Regions from separate parts of the Homo sapiens genome. Here regions 2 and 3 are each linked to region 1. The links are contacts of gene promoters, found by promoter capture Hi-C in blood cells and fetal thymus (Javierre and others, 2016). All regions are on one chromosome and are shown on one strand. Each heading gives the region's core, a stretch centred on a gene start or on the middle of the fragment in contact. The rest is flanking DNA. Distances are from core to core; before and after follow the strand shown. Region 1 holds the start of MDM1 (Mdm1 nuclear protein). Region 2 overlaps CPM (carboxypeptidase M). Region 3 has its middle 85 kb from the start of CAND1.

What was found. The method cuts DNA at HindIII sites, captures the fragments that hold promoters and counts their contacts. A CHiCAGO score of 5 or more calls a contact.
Region 2: a contact is called between a fragment that was not itself captured here and the fragment with the promoter of MDM1 in region 1, in 1 of 17 cell types (megakaryocytes). The highest score is 5.4, in megakaryocytes.
Region 3: a fragment that was not itself captured here is called in contact with the fragment with the promoter of MDM1 in region 1 in 3 of 17 cell types (total CD4 T cells, naive B cells and total B cells); the score reaches 5.5 in total CD4 T cells.

What each region holds. Positions count from the first base shown.
Region 1 is chr12:68,330,828-68,333,718 of GRCh38, forward strand. MDM1 (Mdm1 nuclear protein) reads right to left here and starts at 1,535. Exons shown (of 15, transcript NM_001354969.2): 1 at 1,401-1,535; 2 at 280-394. The coding sequence starts at 1,418. It overlaps LOC105369819 (a long non-coding RNA gene), which reads left to right and starts at 1,804. Exons shown (of 3, transcript XR_945057.3): 1 at 1,804-2,891. RefSeq lists an enhancer at 1,086-1,175 and a silencer at 1,476-1,735. The HindIII fragment of the contact is 10,890 bases long and covers 1-2,891 here.
Region 2 is chr12:68,850,103-68,853,154 of GRCh38, forward strand. CPM (carboxypeptidase M) reads right to left here. Exons shown (of 9, transcript NM_198320.5): 9 at 1,073-3,052. It also overlaps a transcript of MDM2 not described here. Among named protein-coding and RNA genes, the nearest start is that of MDM2, 43 kb to the left of the region's middle. The HindIII fragment of the contact is 1,089 bases long and covers 979-2,067 here.
Region 3 is chr12:67,353,029-67,355,937 of GRCh38, forward strand. No RefSeq gene overlaps it. Among named protein-coding and RNA genes, the nearest start is that of CAND1, 85 kb to the left of the region's middle. The HindIII fragment of the contact is 569 bases long and covers 1,018-1,586 here.

The sequences.
Region 1 (2,891 bases), core at 285-2,784:
ATTTAACTTAACCGCTCAGTCAGTACCGAAACAGTTGTGATGGAGGCCTCCATTAGTGAAACCTGGCCTGCCACACTAGCTGCTGGGAATAGTCCTGGCTCATAGTAAACCTTCAATAAATACTTGATTAATAAATGAATAAATCAACCAGGCCAACTGAACTTTTAATATATCATTTGGTAAACTTAGCCCAAGGTTTACTTAGCCCAAGTTATAACGGCTTGGCCCAAGTTATAAACTTAGCCCAGGTTAGAATGGCTATTAGCCTGCTCAACTTACCTAATTGATCTGATCTAAGTCCAGCCCATGGGTACTTTCGCCCCACGGAGGAATTACAAGACTCGGACAAATAAGACTTTTTCCACAGGAAGTTCCTCTGGTATTCACTCAGCCCCTGTAATGCAAAGTACACTTTTGAGTACAGTCCAATTAATGAATGATGTTTTAAAGCAGACATCGGTGAAAAATAATTTCTGAACCTCCCAAAAGAGACTTAAGACTGAAAATTAAACACAGACGAGCTCCTTAATAAGAGCTAATATTCACCCAGCCCTGTGCTAAGCAGTTCACACGTGTTATATCCTTTAATCCACAACACCACTTGAGGCAGATGCTACCAGGAATTCCAGGCTCAGAGGTTACCCTTTCACTGATTATCTGATTCCAAAGCATGAGTTCTTGTCGGATAACTAATGACAATCTAAATTCTCATCATTCTAGATTTATCGCAGGTTTTCACCGAGTACACAATATTATGTACCATGCCTAGGACCTTTTGCTATTTGATAAAGTCAACAAAAGGCAAACTCCCCTTCCATTCTGAATACACGCCTTTAAGATAAATGAGTCAGGAGATGTGGGACGCTGTGGCCACCTGTGAAGTTGCAGGGTGCTAGTCCCTGACAGCTACCAGCTACCTGGAACTTTTAACATACGCTAAGAATGCACAACGATGAAAAACGTGTATTTCTTTATACGCTGTCTTTACTAAGAACCCATTTCTCAAGCCTTTAAAAGCCACATACACTAAAGTTTTAAAGGTAATGGGGGTTAAATGCTAAGCTAAATGGGCCACAGGTGTCCCAATCTGAAGTCGCCTTTAGTTCTCTTCGCAAAGGGACCTCCTCCCATCTCCACTCCTCTTGAGTCCCCCTAAGTAAATGTGTCTCGCACCATCTGACTCTTCGACACACTGCAGCTTGCAAATGTGAGTGAGCGGAGAGGGAACTAGGTTAAGAGGCGGCGGGCAGATTCTGGGGCCCCTCGAGCAGGCCCTGGGGCTGGCAGCTTCCGCCGGGCAGAGGGCTGCAGCGCAGAAAAGCAGCGTGACCTCGGCGCTCCACACCTCCCCGGCCATGGCTCCCCCCAGCCACATTCCGGCCCGGGGACCCCAGCCTCACCTTGAAGCGCACCGGCATGTCGCCCGGCGCCGGAGCCCCCGCTACTCCGACAGTTAACTGGAGAAAAAGCTCCGAGGGGGCGGGGCGATAACAGTGTTCCCTAGCAAAGCCTCGGCCCGGCGTCCCCGACTACGCGCCGGCGCACTCCGCGCTTCCCGCCTAGAGGCCTGTCGGTCTGTTTTTCCCCGCCCTTTTTGGAGCCTAGGGACCAATAGAGACTCGCAGAGTGCCTTACCTCCATTAGGATTTGACCAATGAGTGGCCGAAAGGGAGCCGCCTACCTCCCTTGCCAAATCCCTGGGGCTGATAGAGATGGCGGGCGGAAGGCCGGCCAATAAGGCTCCCGGAACCGGGCTGGGCGGGACCCCGGGGGTGCCTTCCTGGGTTGGGTGGACCGGTCCCTGGTTCGCCGGGTCCTGCGCAGCAATGCGTCTGCTTGCTGGTGGAATTCGCCAGCCGCCAGCCTCGCTGGCCCAGGTGCTTGACAGCATCAAAGGTCAAAGTGTGTTCTTCATGCTAACATCTATGAGAAAACCGAACGCTTCTTTTTCTGAAAGTGCTCAGATTTATTCTGCTGAATATCGGTTCGTACAAACGACAGCCGCATTACAGTTTATTGTCACATCAAAAGGGAAAGGCCAAAAAAATATATAACTTAGGCAAGATTTTTGAAACTTTATTGAAACTCGAAAGACAAACTGCTGTCTCTTCCTCCAGTGATGTTCTTCCTCCTTCAATCTCTACCTTCCCCAAAATGATGTACATACAGCCCTTAGATGAGAAAACGTTTATTGAAGATGGTTGTCTCAACTTCCAAACCTTCAGCCTTGTCTCTCCGCTCAACCTTTTTTTAAAAATAAAACTTCATCTGATTTTAATCGACTATTGCCATCATCGTCGATAAATGTTTCTTGACAGAATACTGCTGATTCTGAGAATTGGGAAAGAAAGAAATTGTCCAGATAGTTCTCTGATATACTTGGGAAGGACATACATCTTTATTTATTTATTTATTCATTATTTATTCAATAATGGTGTAATGTGACATGTGCTAAATTTCTAAATGAAAGGTGTCAATAATAAGGGCTACAGGATCTGGGAGCAGGGAGTCATTTCGGACGGCAGAAGATGCGTCAGGAGGAAATATTCAGACTGAAAGGACTGCAATAAGTAAAAAGTGGGACGATGAAAGGGCAGATGTCTGAATGGAATGCTGCCAGGCTTCTTCCAGGAACAACAAATGAGTGCCTTTTACATTTGTCATGTGTTGACTGAATAAAAGTATACCACTCTTAAACTTTCAAATATCAACACCAATCCTTGATGCTTCCCTTTAAGCATTTTCCGCAAAAGCTGTCTTCCTGAATCCTGATTGATGTCTTTGTTCTTCATCATCATCGAGATACTTAAAAATCATTTGAAGAAGCCACCTGATATCTGGAACAAAGAGCATATTAAATTAGTCCCAATGCAGCCATGCATCCAGGGGGC
Region 2 (3,052 bases), core at 273-2,772, 520 kb after region 1:
GGTGCAACCCTGTCTTAACTAAAAATACAAAAATTAGCCAGGCGTCATGGCATGTGCCTGTTAATTCCAGCTGCTCGAGAGGCTGAGGCATGAGAATTACTTGAACCTGGGAGGTGGAGGTTGCAGTGAGCCGAGATCCCACCACTGCACTCCAGCCTGGGTGACAGAGCGAGACTTCGTCCCAAAAAAAAAAAAAAAAGCTGCAAATTTAAACGTTGAAGTCTAGGTAAATATACCAGGGAACTTCTGCTTAAGAGGCTTCTATGTAATGAAATTCTCTTGAAAACAGAGAAACTATTTCCTGTTTATTTTCTAAATTGAGACGTCACTTTTTAAAAATTGGTACCTGTAATTTAGCCATTTCCTACTCAGCAATGTCTCATTTAAACTATTATTTGTTTAGCGTGTTTCAAAGAGCAGATGTAAGCTTGAGCCCATCCTCTGTCCTATGACTAAGTCGATATTAGCAGGGGTTAGGACTGTTAGTTTTCCAGTTCCTACTGGAGGCAAATTCTTTGTTTACCACTGTTCTCTGTATTTCAAAAGCACCTGGAAATCAATAAAATTTGTTATTCAGAACAAAAGCCTTCTCTATATATCAGTATTTCCCAAAATGTGTTTGGAAATATAGGTATGTTAATCCAAAGGGATGGTACGAGGCTGTATTATTTAAGGAAATGGTCCCATAGCTTAGCATGTTTGGGAAATCCATTTCTTTTCTGCATTTCTCAGATTCTTTATTACATTAATATAAATTGTGAATTTTCAAATATTTTTTCTGACCAGAAGGCATACTTTCCATCCATCATCTTGTCCATGGAACACACTGCCCCACAACACAAATTAATTTGGAATGTATTATATATAATATATATAACATATAGCATATGTAACTTGTTCTGGAAGAACTATCTGGACTTTGAAGAGTTGTTGCAATGTTATTGCCTCATAAAAGGTCATTAAGTTTGGTCTTTCCCAAGCTTTATTTGGTGGTAATCAGTTATTTTTAGTGGACTTTGTTATACTTGCATAAGTACTTATTTTCAGGTAACATAATGGGAAAAAAGCATTATTTATATGGATATTAGTTCTTTATTGAGAATCAGAAATATTTTAAATTTACTAAATTCAGAGGTAGTCATGGCCTCTCCCCAATAAACTTTACAGTCTTAGACAATTTGTGCATTTTAATAAATTCTTAGTTATAGTATTAAAGAAAGTGGCTGGGCGCGGGGGCTCACGCCTGTAATCCCAGCACTTTGGGAGGTCCAGGCAGAGGCAGGCAGATCATGAGGTCAGGAGATCGAGACCATCCTGGCTAACACGGTGAAACCCCGTCTCTACTACAAATACAAAAAATTAGCCGGGCGTGGAGACAGGCACCGGTAGTCCCAGGTACTCGGGAGGCTGAGACAGGAGAATTGCTTGAACCCGGGAGGCAGAGGTTGCAGTGAGCCGAGATCACGGCACTGCACTCCAACCTGGGTGTTAGGGCGAGACTCCGTCTCAAAAAAAAAAAAAAGAAATAAAAAAAGTTACCAGGAAAACTGGTAAGATCAGCTATAAAACATCTATAAAAGGCAATGGAGTAGTTCATATGCAAAAGTATGATAAAATGGTGAGCAATACTGTACAGTATCTGCTTATTAGTTGATATAATGTAAAGTCTATAACAAACCCAAACTTCTACTTTAGCTACAGTACTGTGGACTTTCAATGCTCTTTAACTAGTCTGGTCATCATAATTTTCTCCCCCTTCCCCCTTCTAAAGTCATGAGGAAAATATAAAGGATCTATCATAAAATATACATCAACTGTATTGTTACCATATAGAATAACAACCAGACTTCTCAATAAGCAACTTATCTATTGCAGTAAGACAATATGCTATGCTTATCTTTCTGGATTCCCCAGGAAGAGATACTTCCAATCTAACATCAGATATTTTTACTTTCTAAACAGAGCTAACTTGTACCATTTTTAGAAACAGATCACAAATGCAAATTTGCTTCTGGAACAAAACATAACATTGATTTCTTGGAAAGACTTTTGGAAATGTTGAGAAAAAGCTTTTAACATTTCAGATACATCCAACAGTTCATGTCTGAATGTAATTAAGCATCCAAATCAACACTGTCATTTATCTGCAGGGACTTAATGTTTTTCTAAAATACTCTTTGCCATTTAGATTCAATCATGTCAACATTTACCAACATTTGAGTAGGTATACTCTTTAAGAAGGTATATTATACTGCCTTCAAAATACTTATTACCTGAGTGTTAACTATCATCTTTCCTCCACCTGAACAAGCACCAAAAATGTAGCATCTCTTACCAGTCACAGAATCACCGTTCAGCGTGGCGGGGGGTGGTCTCCATTTTACAGATAAAGAAACTGAATGTGTGGCGGATTTGAATCCAGGGCTTCTGCCTTTTTTCTTTCTTTCTTTTTTCTTTTTTTTTTTTTGAGACAGAGGTTCGCTCTGTCACCCCGGCTGGAGTGCAGTGCAGTGATGTGATCTTGGCTCACTGCAACCTCTGCCTTCTGGGTTCAGGCGATTTCTCCTGCCTCAGCCTCCCAAGTAGCTGGGATTACAGGTGCCTGCCACCACGCCCGGCTAATTTTTGTATTTTTTTTTAGTAGAGATGGGGTTTCACCGTGTTGGCCAGGCTGGTCTCGAGCTCCTGACCTCAAGTGATCCGCCTGCCTCAGCCTCCCAAAGTGCTGGGATTACAGGCATGAGCCACCGTGCCTGACTGCTGCTTTCTAAATACCATTTCACTCCCACATTTTTCTCCCATCATGAAAGTGTGTATCAGGTTGGTTTCTCTATAAAAGGAATTATAGCTGAACTAGAGCTGGAGGAGCATAACCACCAGCCCAAGAGGGAGGGGAAAAGCCGGAAAGGCGTTGGGCAGGGAGGTGGCTTGGGTACCTGGTTTGACCACAGTTAGAATATCATGATTGTGTTTTGTTAGTCTTTAAATGATTTTGAGTCTGATAGATAACTAAATTCTGATTTTAAAAACTATTTCAGCAAGAGATTTACAT
Region 3 (2,909 bases), core at 52-2,551, 980 kb before region 1:
TCAATTAAAGATTTATTCTTGATAGGTCCAAAACTTTGGCTGATGGGGAAATGGGGCTGTCTAGAACGCCAGATACATGTTACAAGGGGAGGGAGGAAAGTAAGTGAGAGCATGTCTTATTCTTCTTCTGAACTGGTGAGGCAGTCATCTTAGCTGTCCATAGTGCTATGGACCACTGGAAAACAGCCCCTTTCTTAATGTCTTGGCCATCAGGAATGGTCATCCATCTGGCAAACATTTGCAGTTTGCCTACCACGTGTTAGATACAGCCTGGGGTGCTGGGGTTGCAGAGTCAAACTCTTAATCTTTTTTCAGAATGAACCTATGGCAGGTGAGAGGGGAAAACAAACCATTTTACCAGCATATGATGGGCACTGTGATGGAGTTATAAATAGGGTCTTGTAGGAGCATAAAAGCAAGGGGCTGCAGACTGCTTGGATGAGACAAGCGAAGGCAGCTCCTGAGCTGAAGTTTGAAAACAAGTAGGCATTACTCAGACTGTCAAAAGGCAGGCATTGGGCAAAAAAGCAAGAGCATATATGTAGTGTAGTGACTGAGGGTGCCTAGTGTATTTAGGGAAACCTTCAAGTAGCTCTGTATGCTGGAAGTTGAGTTTGTGTTGCAAGTGTGGAAGGTGAGAAATTTGCCTAAAATCAACTGATCAGAGGCTGGTGAACACTACAGGGAAAGGATTGGTGACAATTTAGATACATTTCTGAAACTTTTGAATTTCATAAAAGATGACCTCTCAGTGGCATTTTTTTTTTTTCAAGATGGAGTCTAGCTCTGTGGAGTGCAGTGGCGCGATCTTGGCTCACTGCAACCTCCACCTCCCAGGTTCAAGAGATTCTCCTGCCTCAGCTTCCCAAGTAGCTGGAATTACAGGCACCTGCCACCATGCCCAGCTAATTTTTGTATCTTTAGAAGAGGCGGCATTTCACTGTCTTGGCCAGGCTGGTCTCAAACTTCTGACCTTGTGATCCACCCACCTCGGCCTCCCAAAGTGCTGGGATTACAAGCTTGAGCCACTGTGCCCGGCTGACAATCAATTTTATACCGACAACTCTGTTTACTTTTGTATAATCTTACTGATAGGTTAGAACATGGCTATCTCATTGTGATGACAGATTGCAGGAGACAGTTGCTCAAATGATAGTATCGGTCTATCTTGGTCAAGTGTCTTAGCTATATGAATTTATCATTTAACACTAACAATACAAATGTTCAGCTGGTAAATAGCTCAAAGATCGACAGGAAGGTGTCTAAAACTACAGGAGTGTCCAAGCAAGCAAGGTTTCACAGTGAGGGAGGAAGTGGAATGAAAAGGGGGAGATGGCAGACTTGAAAAGAGCCCAAGAGTTTGGTTGTGGGCCAGTGAAGCATTTCAGTTTTCCGGATAGTTATGAAAACTGAAACTATGACTCCAAATGTGGGTTCAAAGGGAGGGTGGGATGCTGAAATATTGTTTTTGCTTTGTGTAGGCAGAGTTCCTGTCTCAAGAAGAGGTTTGGCAGTAACAAAGTTTAGCTATTCTGCTGGCCATCACTCCGGAAAGTGTTCCCACGAAGTGGCTGACTTAAAAAGTAAGCTTGACTAAGTATCATATCACATGAGCAGCACTGGAAAGAGGCAGAGCTGAGGGAAAGAGGGAAGCTTCTGTGTAGACGTCGACTTTACTCTTTGACCACCATACCTTGCCTTTCAGTTTGTGGGTAGCTTAGGAAACCGAAGTCAGACAACATAATTGGCTTTTGGGGGATAAGAATTGTGTCTTTCGGATGTTTCTCATAGTGCTTTACAGGATATACCCTCAAAAGAAGCTGAAAAAATTTTAAAAAGAAAGTCTGACACATTTCAATGCTGTGTTCAAGCCTTCTGTTTTCCAAAAGAGGCCATCAGGTATCACAGCAAATCACTTTTGTGGATTATAAAAGGAAGGTGACTTGCAGCTCTAAAATCTTAAATTCTCTGCTCCATGTTCTGTGTTTTATAAATAAGCATAATTGGTATTCAGAAAAGAAATCTGCAATCTCAGCCTACTTCAGGATGTTGGTGAGTTGACTAAGCTGTAAAACTCCTTAAAAGTCAGGATGTTTGGGCAGAGGAGGGCAAAATGTCTAGACAGAACAGAAGGTTTAAACTGCCCCTGGTGAAATTTAGTGGGAATTGACTTTAGCAGCTCTTCCTCCTGGGTGAATAGCTTGTGATTTGCGACTGTGAAGTGGTTGGACTGAAATGCTTTCTACTCTGAAGTTGTATGACTTTTTTTTTTCACATAGTGAATAGAGATATTGATGGAAAAGACATAACTATCAAGATAAAAGTGTGTTTTAAAATAATACTTTTAAGTATTCGACTGTATTCCTTTGTCCTTATGCAAACTAAACCTTGAGAAACAAAGACTGGTAAGATCTTGTGGAGAGAAAGTCAAATATTCCAATTCATTTGGCTTTGTTTGTGCCATATGTGTAAATAACTCCAACAAGATAGTCTGAGAAATAAGAGTTCATCTGGGAACATTCTTAGTCTTGTTATTAATGTTTTAAAATCCTTAGAACTCTTTTGCCAAATTCTGAGACTTAAAATGCAAAGATAAGGATGATTATTTTCAGAGCCAAGTGTGGAAATTATTCTTCTAGTATCTCTCTGTGTTCATGCGGTGCTATTGACTCTGGCAAAATGGGATCTCATATCTCTTTACTAATGAGAACTCAAATCTTCCCTGGGGACTGGCAACTTTAAAGGCTCATTACTCATATGTTTGATGTTATCTTTTGCTGGCAAATAACTGACGCTAGAGTCTTGAACATTTGCCTTTTAGGTTTGCTGTTTGCCCAACATTATGCTAATTCATCTGAAATGGAACTGTCAGCGGCTGCAGAATGTCTTTACCTTTCTTGAGAATTGAA